2 separate regions of the Homo sapiens genome follow, and region 2 is linked to region 1. The links are contacts of gene promoters, found by promoter capture Hi-C in human tissues and cell types (Jung and others, 2019). All regions are on one chromosome and are shown on one strand. The core of a region is centred on a gene start or on the middle of the fragment in contact, and the rest is flanking DNA. Distances in the headings are between cores, read along the strand shown.

Evidence for each region. Contacts are between HindIII fragments. The study calls those that stand out against the background at their distance.
Region 2: a contact is called between a fragment that was not itself captured here and the fragment with the promoter of MND1 in region 1, in 1 of the 25 tissues and cell types used here (dorsolateral prefrontal cortex).

The regions. Positions count from the first base shown.
Region 1 is chr4:153,342,823-153,349,714 of GRCh38, forward strand. MND1 (meiotic nuclear divisions 1) reads left to right here and starts at 1,866. Exons shown (of 8, transcript NM_032117.4): 1 at 1,866-1,918. The coding sequence starts at 1,916. RefSeq lists silencers at 1,635-1,944, 2,075-2,234 and enhancers at 2,715-2,774, 2,855-2,974. The HindIII fragment of the contact is 8,470 bases long and covers 1-3,400 here.
Region 2 is chr4:153,126,484-153,133,451 of GRCh38, forward strand. No RefSeq gene overlaps it. Among named protein-coding and RNA genes, the nearest start is that of TRIM2, 74 kb to the right of the region's middle. The HindIII fragment of the contact is 6,887 bases long and covers 3-6,889 here.

The DNA of each region.
Region 1 (6,892 bases), core at 616-3,115:
GTTATCTGAAGTTTAAGGTATTTGTACTGAAAATGCAAAGGAACCAGAGGCAGTAGAATGTGTCTTCTTTCCTAGGTGGCGGTGATTCCCAGGTCTGGTTGATCAAGACTGCAATGCACAACAGGAACCTCAGAGAACTGTCACAGCAGCTCTCAGTGACACTTAGGATACAGATGCAGCTTAAGTGACCCTTTTTTATATCCATTTAGCACTCATTTTTCCCAAAAGAAGACCTGTTTGGGTCAATTTGTTACTGTCCCAGGGCAGGCTTTTGCACTGTGTCGCTTTAGAGGCAGGGGCGGAGGAAAACTTGGGACTGTAACATCAGTACTGCACAAAGCCCTCTTCCGTATACAGCATAAGCACTATTCTATAAAATCCCCAGCAAGCCTTTGTTTCCTTGCAGTCAGCTCCTTTTCTGCTGATTCTGCCCATTGCTCCCTTGCAACGTATTTTCATGCTTTCTCTAATGATTCTGCCTTTCTTTACTTACAACTGCCTTGGTAAATTTTTCTGCCACAGCGCCACTGGCCTCAGATAGTCACCACTCACCTGCAACAAGCCTGAGAGCCAATTAAGACAAGGCTTTCCCCAAGTAGCACAAATGTATATACCACTACTGTAGTTACTTAATGTACTCATTTATCATTTTAAAATTACCTTATGTACCATCAGTTACATGGTATAACTCTTACAGGAAAAACCAAATTAATGGAACTCTGCAATTCAATGTACCCCTTCCTCTGCCTCCAGCAGAAGCAACAGGGGACATAAATTCCAACTTTAGATGCTACTCTTATAGCATCTACAAGACTTACTACACTGTGTGTGTGTGTGTGTGTGTGTGTGCGTGCGTGTGTGTGTGTTACAGAGTCTCACTCTGTCGCCCAGGCTGGAGTGCAGTGGCGGGGTCTTGGCTCACTGCAACCTCTGCCTCCTGGGTCCAAGCGATTCTCCTGCCTCAGCCTCCCGAGTAGCTGGGATTGTACAGGCGTCCGCCACCACGCCTGGCTAATTTTTGTATTTTTATTAGAGATGGGATTTCACCATGTTGGCCAGGCTGGTCTCAAACTCCCTACCTCAAGTGATTTGCCCGCCTCGGCCTCCCAAATTGCTGGGATTACAGGTGTGAGCCACAGCGCCCAACCGTACTTCTTACACCTAAAAATGGTTCAAAACACCATAGAATAATTTTCAAAATAATTGAATTCTGAGTTAAAATTTTTCAGCACTTTCAGGGGCCTGAGCTTTTGCTATGAATCTGGATCTATTCTCAAGCCATGAAGTAGCGTATTTTTGACCATGTTGATTTGAAATTCATTCCGTTGTTTCCTTCTTTTTTAAAACCTAAGGGAAAAACAAACAGACATACACAGGATTTGAAAAGCTGGAAAGCAGTGGGTAGCGGCTCGGGAGAAGATGAGGGGTCAGATTAGAAGACGAGAAAGGAATCCAGTCCGCCCCAGACAGGACAAGTCCGGAAGGATGGAGGCAGCGTTTCCTTCCTCAACAGCCTAAACGCCTCTATTTTTTACATCCAAACTTAGGCCATATTTCTGCGGCGCCAAGAAAACGCAGTAAAAGCAAAGGCAAGATGTCCTTAAAAAAAAAAAAGGTCACATTCACAGAATACCGAGGAGACGGAGGCAGCTCTGCAACCCGTCCACTGAGACGCGGACACGCTCCCCACAGCCCCGGCCCCAGGCCCGCGCCCCTTCCCCCGCCGGCGGCTCGGATGGGTCGCTAGGGGTCGCTGCGCGCCGCGCGGGCGAGGACCGGCCTCTTTCCCCCACCTCCACCGTCTCGCTGCTCCGCCCCCGCGGCGTAGTCGGCGCCAAAATCAAACGCGTCCTGGCCTGTCCCGCCCCTCTCCCCAAGCGCGGGCCCGGCCAGCGGAAGCCCCTGCGCCCGCGCCATGGTAAGGACTGAGGCTACGGTCCCGCGTCTTCTTCCTCCCTAGTGTGTGGGCTTCGCCGCCCCTCGGCTGCATGTGGATCCCGGCCTGGCGTTGACCGCCATTCCGGGCCGCGGGAGCGGTCGCCCGGCTCTCGGCCTCACCGTGTAGGGGCCCAGCCCGGCCCCGCCGCAGCCACTCCGCACTCTGCGGCGTTCCCCGCCGCTCCTGTCCGGAGTCCCGAGGCGCGGGGGCATCCGCGGCCTCCCCGCCGGCTGCACCCCGCGTCTGTCCCCAGGGCCCGTTCGGGCGGGTTAGGTTAGAACGCGGGAAGCGTTCGCGAACGTGACCCGAGAACTTCACCAACCTGGATTTATCTAAAAGACCACGGGGCCCTTGAGAACCTGGGCTCCCTACGCCTCCAGCTTCGGCCCCGCGTGGTGTAGCCCCCCCCATTAAGAACGGGGAGAGAAAGCGCAAGTGGGCGGGAGGGACTGCGGGGAGCGAACGTCTTGATCCCAAAGCGCACTCCTGGTTTGTCACCATTGAGTGGTTTTCTGTATTGTAATATGTAGAGCACATTCCAGAACTGCTCAGTTTCGAGTTACCTAATGGATCTTCACTGTGTGCCAATTAGTCGATTTCTGTGAAAACGCCCCGGTTTCTGCCAAAGGGCAGGAGTCGCTGCTCTTGTGCCGGGTGCTGCTGGTTGTGTAGGGCGCTGTTGCTTTTTTAAGGACGCTCTGCACTGAATTAGGCTTCCTCGTGGGTCATGATCAGTTAAGTCCTGGTAAGATCGGCTTTGTGAGCTTAACGTCTTTCTGCTCATCAAATCATTTTCATAAACCTTCAAAGTTTCATGCCGTTTTTTCTGCTTCAGTTGGCGAAGAATCAACATCTGGTTAAATGGATCTAAGATTTTAATATCTTCATTTACTTACGTGGCCGTTAAATGTTGCCGAGCTAAGGGGGGCAGGGTGGGACACCAGGATCCAGTTGTATGGTATTTATTTGAAGATATTTGTCCAGATGTAGTTATAAATGATAACGGCTTCTTTGTGGTTAAACTAACAACCCAGCCACCTGGGCGTGAAGTGCTCTAAGGAGCCAAACAGGACTACAGTTAAAACAAATCTGTTAGCAGTGCCCTTCTGTGTTACAATTTTTCTCTGCAGAGTTGCTGGCCTCGTATAACTGACTTGGAGAACTGTGCAGCTCAAACGCGCGTTGTCCTTTTACCTAATCTATCTCTCTACACATGAATCACCTGCTAATACTAAATGTGTTAACTCTTTAGAAGCTTACCTCCGATAATAGAGAATCCTTTTAAAAAATTAAAGCTTTTGATAAGATGTGGACTTCCTATTTTTTAATATGTGATCGAGAAATAAATTTAGTGTTGGTCAAAGGTAAACTTTTGATTGATTATGAATTAATAGCTGTTTTCATTTGGTTAGGCATCCTAAGTAAATAGTTAATGAGTTCAGGCAATTTTTGAAATTGGAGAAGTGCAGTGCTGAACTCTGAGAGCAGCAGTGATGTCTACTTAATAATTCTTCATAATTTTATCGTAATTGATTAGTAGGGCTGGCTGTAGGAATTCCATAACTTCTAACTGAGAAGGTTCCTCAGATAACATGATTTTTTAAGTGGTTTAAAATACTTCCAGAAAGCTTCATAGTCCTTGAGTCAGGTTTTGAGTCTCCTGACTTACTAATTTGAATGCATCTCTAACTTATACTATCAGGTTTTTCCTAGTCTTAATTAAATATTAGATAAATCCTCATTGATTTTTTTGAGAAGTTTCTAAATATGAGTATTAATATGGCATCTTTTTACATTAGTTATTTTAATTCTGGCTATGATACTCCTACTGTGGTTAATAATAGAAATTATTTCTAGTCATGAAAGAGACTGATGAATAAATCAGCCTGAAAACAAGGTAAATGGATGATACAGCTCATCCACATTTCTTGAGTAACTTTCATAGCTGCTGAGCTGAGTGTTGAGAGCTTTCCTAAAACTGGGTACCCCAGGACGCTAGATTCTCCTCATTGCCTGCCTCTGGGGGGCAGATTCTTGTGGAGTGCAAGGAGCTGTTTCGAATATCAAAATGTTAGGAGTCTTTCCTAACACTTCAGGATCTGCTTTCTGCTAGTGCAGCGACACACTGAAATTCTAAAGGGATTCCCATTGCCCCGCAGCGCCCTTGACATGGCCTTCAGATTCTGGGCTGACAAAAGTAGGGTTCTCAACCCTGGGGCACAATTAAAAAATATGTTGGAGAGGATTTTTAAAATAAGTTGGAGGATTTAAAAAATATGTTGCCCAGGTCCCATTCCAGAGATTTTGATTCCATTCATTAGAGATGAGCCTGGGCATCGGTATTTTTTAAAAACTCCTGAGGTGATTCTAATGTATGGCAGTTTAGGACCTATTGGACTAGAAAAATATGTTGAAGGAGTCTTCTAACTGTTATGAATTTCATGCTTGATTTGTCAGATACTGCAGAGGTGAGAATGAAGGGAGGCAAATAGAGCAGTCCTGGACCCTAGCTCTCAGCCCTAGGTTTAGTGAGCAGATCTGTATGGGTTCCTGGAGTTTGCCTAACTGAGATTTCTCTGATTTGTCTCTTCAAGCCAGGCAATACATGATGTCACTGAATTCACTATGATTAATTCACCTGTTATATCTATGGGAGTATGGTAGGTGTTGGGGGGCTTAGGAGCCTGAGCAGCCTCAAATTTTAGAGTTGGGGGCTTTAGATACATGGTCCTAAAATTAAGAGCTTTATGTCTCCCTTGTCTAACTTGGCACTAAGCCCTGGAAAGGCAAAGGCAGTTCATGTTCTGAAGAAGTTTTTCAGTGTGCTGATACGGACAAGTAAACATCTTTTCAATGTAGTGAGTGATTTGATGAAGGTGTGTTCTGGGAATACATGCTTAGCCTGTGAACTCAGGGAAGTTCTGGAGGGAGAGTGCCTAAACTAAGCCTTGGGAGATGTTTTGGAGTTTTGACTAGGCAAGAAGTGAGGATGTTCTAGGTGGAGGAACATTTTTTTTAAGGATGGAAATGAGAGCATTCTTCGAGTAGATAATTACAGGCAGTTTTTGTATTACAAGTTGCTTAGGTCTCCATACTGTTAATGGCAAAGTTTGAGGTGGGGTGTGGTGGAAGAGGCTATAAAAGGTAGGTTGGGGTTAGGTGATAAAGGGCCTTGTATATCATACTGGGGTACTCAGAAACGTCTGGATGTCTGGGAGCCACTGGAGGGTTTTGAGCAAGGCAGGGAAAAAGGTCTTATTTATGTTTTCCCAGTGCGGAATGTGAACATAGAGGGTGAGTCAAAGTGTGGTTAGGGGACTGGAGGTATATTGCAGGAGATAGATGATGAAGGCCTGAATGAGGCAGTGGTAGTAGAGATAGAACAGACAGGACAGATAAGAGAAATAATTAAATGCTGAAACTGGCAGAACTTGGTGATTGGTTGGATGTGAGATAAGGAGGTGAAGGTACCTAGGATGACTGTCAGGCCTCTGGCTTGGGTCACGAGATAGTATCTGAGACTCAAGGTCTAGAACAGCAAGTTTGTGGGGAGTAGGTATGAGAGAGGAAGAGTTCAGTTTAGACTGACGGAGTTGAAGTTTGTCCAGCAGGCGGGTAGATGCATGACACTGAAGCTCAGGAGCACACCCAGGGGTGAATGTAAAGATTTGAGGTCTCAGCATAAGTGTTAATTAAAACCATGAAAGCAAATGAGATCAAAGATAAGATATTAGGAGATGGGATCAGTAGCCAAACCCAGCAGAAAAACAGTGTTTGAAAGTGGACCGAGGAAGAAGAGAAAAATATAAACTTTAAGCTATTTATTTACCCATATTACTCATCAAGAAACACCTGATCATTTTATTCCTGTGGGAATGAGTTAGTGGGTTGTTGTTTTTTTTTGTGTGTGTGGGCTTTGTTTTGTTTTGTTTTGAGACAGTGTCTTGCTTTGTTGCCCAGGCTGGTCTCAAACTCCCAGCCTCAAGTGATCCTCCAGCCTCAGCCTCCCAAAGTGCTGGGATTACAGGTGTGAGCCACCGCCCAGCCAAGTTAGTGGGTTTCTAGGTTTTACAAGAATTAAGACTCACTCACTCCAGTATGTAGCCAGAATGGCAATTCCAAATCCTTGTCTTCACTTATGTAAACTCACGTTTTCTGATGATGTTTTTGGTTGGATGGGGCAGTCTTTAACTGTTGTTTTATGTCTGCTTTTTAAGCAAACAATTTATATTCCTTTATAATCCCCTACAATTTTTGAGAAAGATGCAGATCACATAAGAAATATTAGTGTGGAGTTTTTTTATTAGAGAACTGGAGGTGATAGTTCTCACTCTTTTTTTTTTTTTTTTCTGTAAACCTTTGGTTTGGAGGAAATTTGGCTCCTTTCTCTTTTAACTTAGGATTTAGCTTTATATATTCTATGTACAATATATTGTAAAATTTATTATTAACATATATTTCAGCTACATATTGTCTTAATTTCAAGTTGGCTAAAGGGTATTACAGAAGAATAACCTGAGTGGGCTTCCATTTTCTACTTGGATAGGCCTTTCCCCCTTCCATCTTCTCTTCCACATTGCTGCTATAATTAACTTAACGAAAATGCAACTCTAATCTTGTCACTAGTCTGCTTTAGAAATTACTCAGCAGCTCCTCATTGTCTAGAATGAAGTCCACTGTCAGCTGGACAGTCAGCTTTCCATAACCTGACCCCACACCTTTCTCATCCCATCTGCCAATCCCCCTACATACTTCATACAATAACTGTCCCCCACTGCTTATCCTTCTGGGGAATTCCATGTACTTCCATAACATTGTGCCTGTGTGTGGTCTCCCCAAGATGTGCTTCTAACCATTTCTCAATTTGCCAAAATCCTTTTAATCTCTGTCCTTAGGTAACCCTTCTTCCTCTGCATAGTGGAATTCATTGTGTTCTGGGTATTTATGTAACAA
Region 2 (6,968 bases), core at 2,196-4,695, 210 kb before region 1:
GCATTTGTAGTCCCAGCTATTCGGGAGGCTGAAGTAGGAGGATCACTTGAGCCCAGAAATTCGAAGCTGCAGCAAACCATGATCATGCATCACTGCACTCCAGCCTGGGTGACAGAGCTAGACCCTGTCTCAACAAAAAGGCTGGGGAGACTCATTTAATTCAATACCTTAAGGTCCCCTAGGCCAGTAGATATCTGTATAGATAGAACTCCAAGGAGCTCAAAGCTTTTAACCTAATTGCTTCTAAATATACCTTTTGGAAAGGCATGCTGAAGTTAAATGTAATACTTTCAAACAGACCCTAAGAAAAAGCTGTGGCTGAATACTTCTCACACACGAATCTGATGGCTGTTTCCCGTTCTGGGTCTTTGCCCCAAATTCGCTAATGCCTCACTATAACTCATGCAGAGGAGCTTATTTTCCTAAGACTTCTTGCCTGTTGCTCTTCAGCACCGTTCACTCTCCTTTAGTCTGTTGGGGGACAGTTAACCCACCTTTCTGGGGCAGCCAGATCTACCTCTTTATAGGTTAAAAGCCCTGTTGTTTGCTGTAGAAAAGAAAATGCACAGGAGACCTCAGAAACTCATGTCAATATTAGGAGCTTGAAGACCCGTAAGTAAACAAGGGGGCTGGGTTTTCCTTTTGTGTGTTTGCTTTGAGTTGCCTGCTCTGAGATATTGCTATCTTTGCCTTTGCTGAGGAATATTTACTGCTTTCTTAAAAGCTGACCATGAAAGTGGCTATAACTAAGTTTTAAAAAGCTTTATCAGGCCAGGCGCCATGGCTCACGCCTGTAATCCCAGCACTTTGGGAGGCTGAGGTAGGCAGATCACTTGAGGTCAGGAGTTCGAGACCATCCTGGCCAACATGGAGCAACCCCATCTCTAGTAAAAATACAAAAACTTAGCTGGGCGTGGTGGTGCGCGCTTGTAATCTCAGCACTCGCGAGGCTGAGGCAGGAGAATCGCCTGAACCCGGGAGACGGAGGTTGCAGTGCAGCCGAGATTGCGCCACTGTACTCCAGCCTGGGCTACAGAGTAAGACTCTGTCTCAGAAAAAAAAAAAAAAAGCATTATCATTTGAGTGGAGCTATTCATGTGGATGAGATGCGTTTTTCACTGGTAATGAGAGCAAACAAAGTGAGGGGTGAGAATACGAGGCATTATTTGGGGGAATGCAGTGTCCCACCACGATCTTACAAAATGGAGCATCTATACTTTTGTCTCTACTATGTACTGGTTTTGGATTCAGCGATGCCCACCTGTATCTCATAACGGGAAAACACAACTCAGGCAGAATTGACTGTTGAATAAATAGGCATTACCCGGATGGAATTACACCAAGCAAACGATATCTGTTTTAAAAACAGCTGCTTTCCAGTTTGTTTTTTACAATGTAATATTCAGCCTGCCTGTGACCAGCTGTGGCTGAGTTGTAGGGTGTTCGTGGAGATTATGGGAGGCAGCGTTAAATGTTGCGTTTCTTTTGCTTTTTAAAATCCACCCTTTTGTTCTGTCCTCAGAGAGGAATGTGCATCTTTTGTTCTTAGCTACTCAGCTTCGGCCGGGTCTGGCGGCGCCTTTGAGTAACATGGGCAACGCGCGCCCTCTTCTGGACAATCCACTAATTGCAAATTCTGTAAAGCATTGGTCTGGTTATCAAGCGGGCCCTGAATTTGAATGTTCTTGGTAGAGAACACAAAAGAAATTATGACATGTTCCCTGCATTCAAAGGGCCTGCTTTTATGTTAGAAGATTAAACAGCTTGCTTTGGGATTTTCAGTGTGATTTGGAGAGACCAGAGAATATATTCTTTTAATCGTGTTTCTTAAAAAGGTATTTCTTTTATAGCCAAAATTTCATTTTAAAAATCTAACGATTTATTTTCTTTCTCTATTTGAATTATTTTTGAATTTATATGATTTAAACGGCTTCCTGGCCTGGCGCAATGGCTCTCACCTGTAATCCAAGCACTTTGGGAGGCTGAGGCAGAAGGATCGCTTGAGCCCAAGAGTTCCAGACCAGCCTGGGTAACATAGAGAGACCCTGTCTGTACAAAAAATACAAAAATTAGCCAGGCATGGCGGCCATTTCTCTAGTCCCAGCTACTCAGGAGGCTGAAGTGGGAGAGTCCCTTGAGCCTGGGAGTTCCAGGCTGCAGGGCACTGTGATCGCGCCCCTGCACCCCAGCTTGGACAACAGAGCAAGACCCTATCCCTAAAAAACAAACAAACAAAGCCTTCCTTTTAAAAGAGTAGAAACAAGATAAATAGCAAAGGTGTGTAGGACATTTGTTTTCAGTAAAGATAACTGGATCTTTAAAATCACTACATGAAGATCAATTATTCCATGTAAATCCCAAATAAAATCAATAATTTATCACAAAGTGCTTAGAGCAATATTCTCTACTCCCCTAAAGTCCTGTTTATCAAAAGTGAAACATTTATTTCAGTCTCTCCAGACTGAAGATTACAGAGCAAAATACTCTGTATTTACTTTTTTTTTTCACTCAGCCGAGAAGAGGGGAATAGAATCCCCATGGCCTTGCCATTCCCTTAACCTCACTTGTGGGACTGTTCAGTTTGTGGATCATCAGCAAATTTCTGGTCTATCACTCAGTAACATAAGACCTTGGGAAGATTACTTAAAGTTTGTAAATCTCAGTCTCACTATATGAAAAAGGGGGATAATAGTGGGGGGAATTAAATGAGCTAACCTGTGGTAGGTGCTGGGCCAGTGCCTTGCATTTAATAAATGTTCAATAAATGTTAGCCACCACCATCACCACCACCACTACCACCATCACCACAACTGCCACCATTACCCCCACCACCACTACTGTCACCACTGCCATCACCACCATCAGCATCACCACCACCATTACCACCACCACCAACATACCACTACCTCCACCATAACCACTACCACCACCACCATCACCACCACCATACCACTACCACCATCACCACCACCACCATCACCACCACCACCACCATCACCACCACCACCACCAGCATCACCACCATCACCACCACCACCACCATCACCACCATCACCACCACCATCACCACCATCACCACCACCACCACCACCATCACCATTACCACCATCACCACCCCCACCACCACCACCACCATCACCACCACCACCATCACCACTACCACCACCAGCATCACCATCACCACCACCTTCACCACCACCATCACCATCACCAACATCACCACCCCCCCACCACCATCAACACCATCACCACCACCATCACTACCATCACCACCATCACCAACACCACCATCACCATTACCACCATCACCACCCCCACCACCACCATCACCACCATCACCACCACCATCACCACCATATCACTACCACCACCACCACTACCATCACCACCATCACCACCCCCACCACCACCATCAACACCATCACCACCACCATCACCACCACCACCATCACCATTACCACCATCACCACCCCCACCACCACCATCACCACCATATCACTATCACTACCACCACCACCACCACCACTACCATCACCACCATCACCACCACCACTACCACTACCATATCACTATCACTACCACCACCACCACCACCACTACCATCACCACCATCACCACCACCACTACCACTACCATATCACTATCACTACCACCACCACCACCACCACTACCATCACCACCATCACCACCACCACTACCACTACCATATCACTACCACCACCATTACCACCCCACCACCACCACCAGCATCACTACCACCACCACCCCCACCACCAATAGCATCACCACTGCCATCACCACCACTGCCTCAATCACCACCACCATCAAAATCACTTTCTTTCTGTATTTCTCTGCTCCTCTTTTACTTTTTATTGTAAAATAAAACATATAGAAACCTTCCAAAATAAAAGTAGAACTTAATGAGTCATAATAAGGTGAACGCCCATGTAACCAAAAGAACCAGTCACCCCAGAACGCTCCATTGTGCTGTTCCAGCCTCAACTCCCTCCCTTCCCCAAAAAGGAACCACTGTCCTTTTACTGTAGTGACTTTCCTGTTTCTTTTTGGTTTTAGGACCCAAATGTGCCTGACTAGACACTTTAGTTTAGTCTGTACCTCCCCCAATTTTTCTACCTTATGTCTTTTAAGTTTATTATAATGTATAGGCTTCTCTCCATTCCTTGCAGTTTGCCTGCTGAAGAAGCTGGGGTATTTGATGTGTAGAACATCTCAGAGTCTGGCTCTGAGGTGACTGCAGGCTCATGGTGCAATTCAACATGTTCCTCTGTCTGTCTTTCCTGCCAGCTTGGAAGCTGGGGCCAGAGGCTGCGTCAGACTCCTCTTCTATCCCTAGACTCGTGTTGTCTCTTTGGCAAGATTCTAGGTAGTGCTGTGTCCTTTCATTAGCTCAGTGGCTAGATTTATGTGGTCTGCAAAATGACGATATTCTAATGTCACCATTTATTTTGCATCCTTTAGTTAAAATACTTTTAGTAAGCATTTCTGCCCTTCATGCTGTATTTGATTTCTCCGCGGTACAGTTCACATAGGAAAAAAAACTTGATTTTCTTTGCTTTAATTACCCAGTTTTCAAGAAAGTGAATGTGTTCCCGTGGTGGTTGTAAAACTTGACTGCAAATTCTGCAGCGCTTCTGCCTTCAAGAGATGGGATCTACATCCCGCTTGTTGAATCTGGAGGGGCATAGGAGAGCATTAAAAATGACAATTTGTGCCGGGTGCAGTGGCTCCTGCCTGTAATCCCAGCACTTTGGGAGGCTGAGGCAGGCAGATCGCCTGAGGTCAGGAGTTTGAGACCAGCCTGGCCAACATGGTGAAACCCTGTCTTTACTAAAAATGCAAAAATTAGCCAGGCGTGGTGGTGGACACCTGTAATCCCAACTACTCAGGAGGCTGAGGCAGGAGAATTGCTTGAACCCAGGAGGCAGAGATTGTAGTGAGCCAAGATTGCGCCACTGCACTCCAGCCTGGGTGACAGAGCAAGACTCTGTTTAAAAAAAAGAAAGACAATTTGTGACTTCCATGCCTACATCATAAAAGGCCACACAGCTTCTACCTTGTTTCCTCGGACACATGCTCATGGAGCCCGTGGCTGCCCTGTGAGAAATCCAGCTCCGCTGAGAACACTGCCTCAGAAAGGCTGCATATGGGCACTCTGGATAGCAGCCCAGCTGAGCACAGGCTTCCGTCATCCCAACCCAGACCCAAATGTGCAAGTGAAGTGGCCTCCAGATGACTCCAGTCCCAGCCATTTCGTCTTTCCAGCTGATGTCCCAGATGTCACAGAGCCAGGTCCACCAGGCCCTATCTGAAGTCCTGAAATACAGAATCCATATGCATGATAGAACGGGTGTTTACACTGCTTCGTCTTGGGGGGAGTTTGTTATACATAATAGTTAATGATAACGGTTCCTCATCGCCCTCTAAAGGTGACCAATGAGATTTATTTATATCCTTGTAAACTCATGAATTTAAAAAATATTTCATGATTTCAATCAATGGATTCATTATGCTTCTTGACACTCAAATTGTCCCTTATTTGACCAATGGCACCTCTTCATACTGGATTCTGAGTCCTTTTGACATAGCTCTATGAATACACAACAAACCATTGAATTATACACTTTAAGTAGGTGAACTGTATGCTATGTAAATTTTTTTTTATCAAAAAGCTCTTATTTAAGGGAAGACAATTACAAAAGACAAAATAACACAAATCAGAATTAGACAAATTCAAAACTGCGGTGATAGAACTCAGAAAAAATTAGAAATTAGCAGTCACTACCTATGTCTTTCCCCGCTCTCAAGGCAACCACTAATCCACTTTCTGTCTTTATAGATTTGTCTATTCAGACATTTCATATACATAAAACCATACAATATGTGGTCTTTTGTGTCTGGCTTTTTAGCACAATGTTTTCAAGGTTCATCCATGTTATGGCATGTAACAATACTTTATTACCTTTTATGGCTAAATAACATTCCATGTATAGACATAATATTTGTCTACCCATTCATTCGTTGATATACATTAGGATTATTTCCACTTTTCAGCTTTTATTAATGACACTGCTATCAATATTCATGTACATGTTTTTTGTTTGTTTCTTTTTGAGACAGAGCCTTCCTCTGTTGCCCAGGCTGGAGTGCAGTGGCACAGTCATGGCTTACTGCAACCTCCACCTCCCAGGCTCAAGCAATCCTCCCACCTCAGCCTCCCAAGTAGTTGGGACTACAGGTGCACACCACCAAGCCGGCTAATTTTTTTGAATTTTTTTAGGGATGGGTTCTTGTCATGTTGCCCAGGCTGGTCTCAAACTCCTGGGCTCAAGCGATCCTCCTGCCTCAGCCTCCTGAAGTGCTGGGGTTACAGGCATGAGCCACCGTGCCCAGCCTCATGCGCAAGTTTCTGTGTAGACATGTTTTCAGTTCTCTTGGGTATAAAACTAGGAGTAGAAATGCTGGGTCATATGGTCCTCTATGTTTAACCTTGTGGGGCACTGCCAAGCTGTTTTCCAGAGTTTCTGAACCATTTTAAATTCCCACCAGCAGTGTATGAAAGTTTCTATTTCTCCACATTCTTGTGAACACTTGTTATTACCTGTCTTTTATAGCCATTCTACTGAGTGTTCAATTGGGTTTTTTTTTGTTTTTTTTGTTTTGTTTTGTTTTTTTTGAGACAGAGTCTCGCTCTGTCACCCAGGCTGGAGTGCAGTGCAGTGGCACGATCTCGGCTCACTACAGCCTCCACCTCCTGCGTTCAAGCGATTCTCCTGCCTCAGCCTCCTGAGTAGCTGGGACTACAGGCATGCACCACCACATCTTGCTAATTTTTGTATTTTTAGTAGAGATGGGGTTTCACCATGTTGACCAAGATGGTCTCAATCTCCTGACCTCATGATCCACCCGCCTCGGCCTCCCAATGTGCTGGGATTACAGGCATGAGCCAC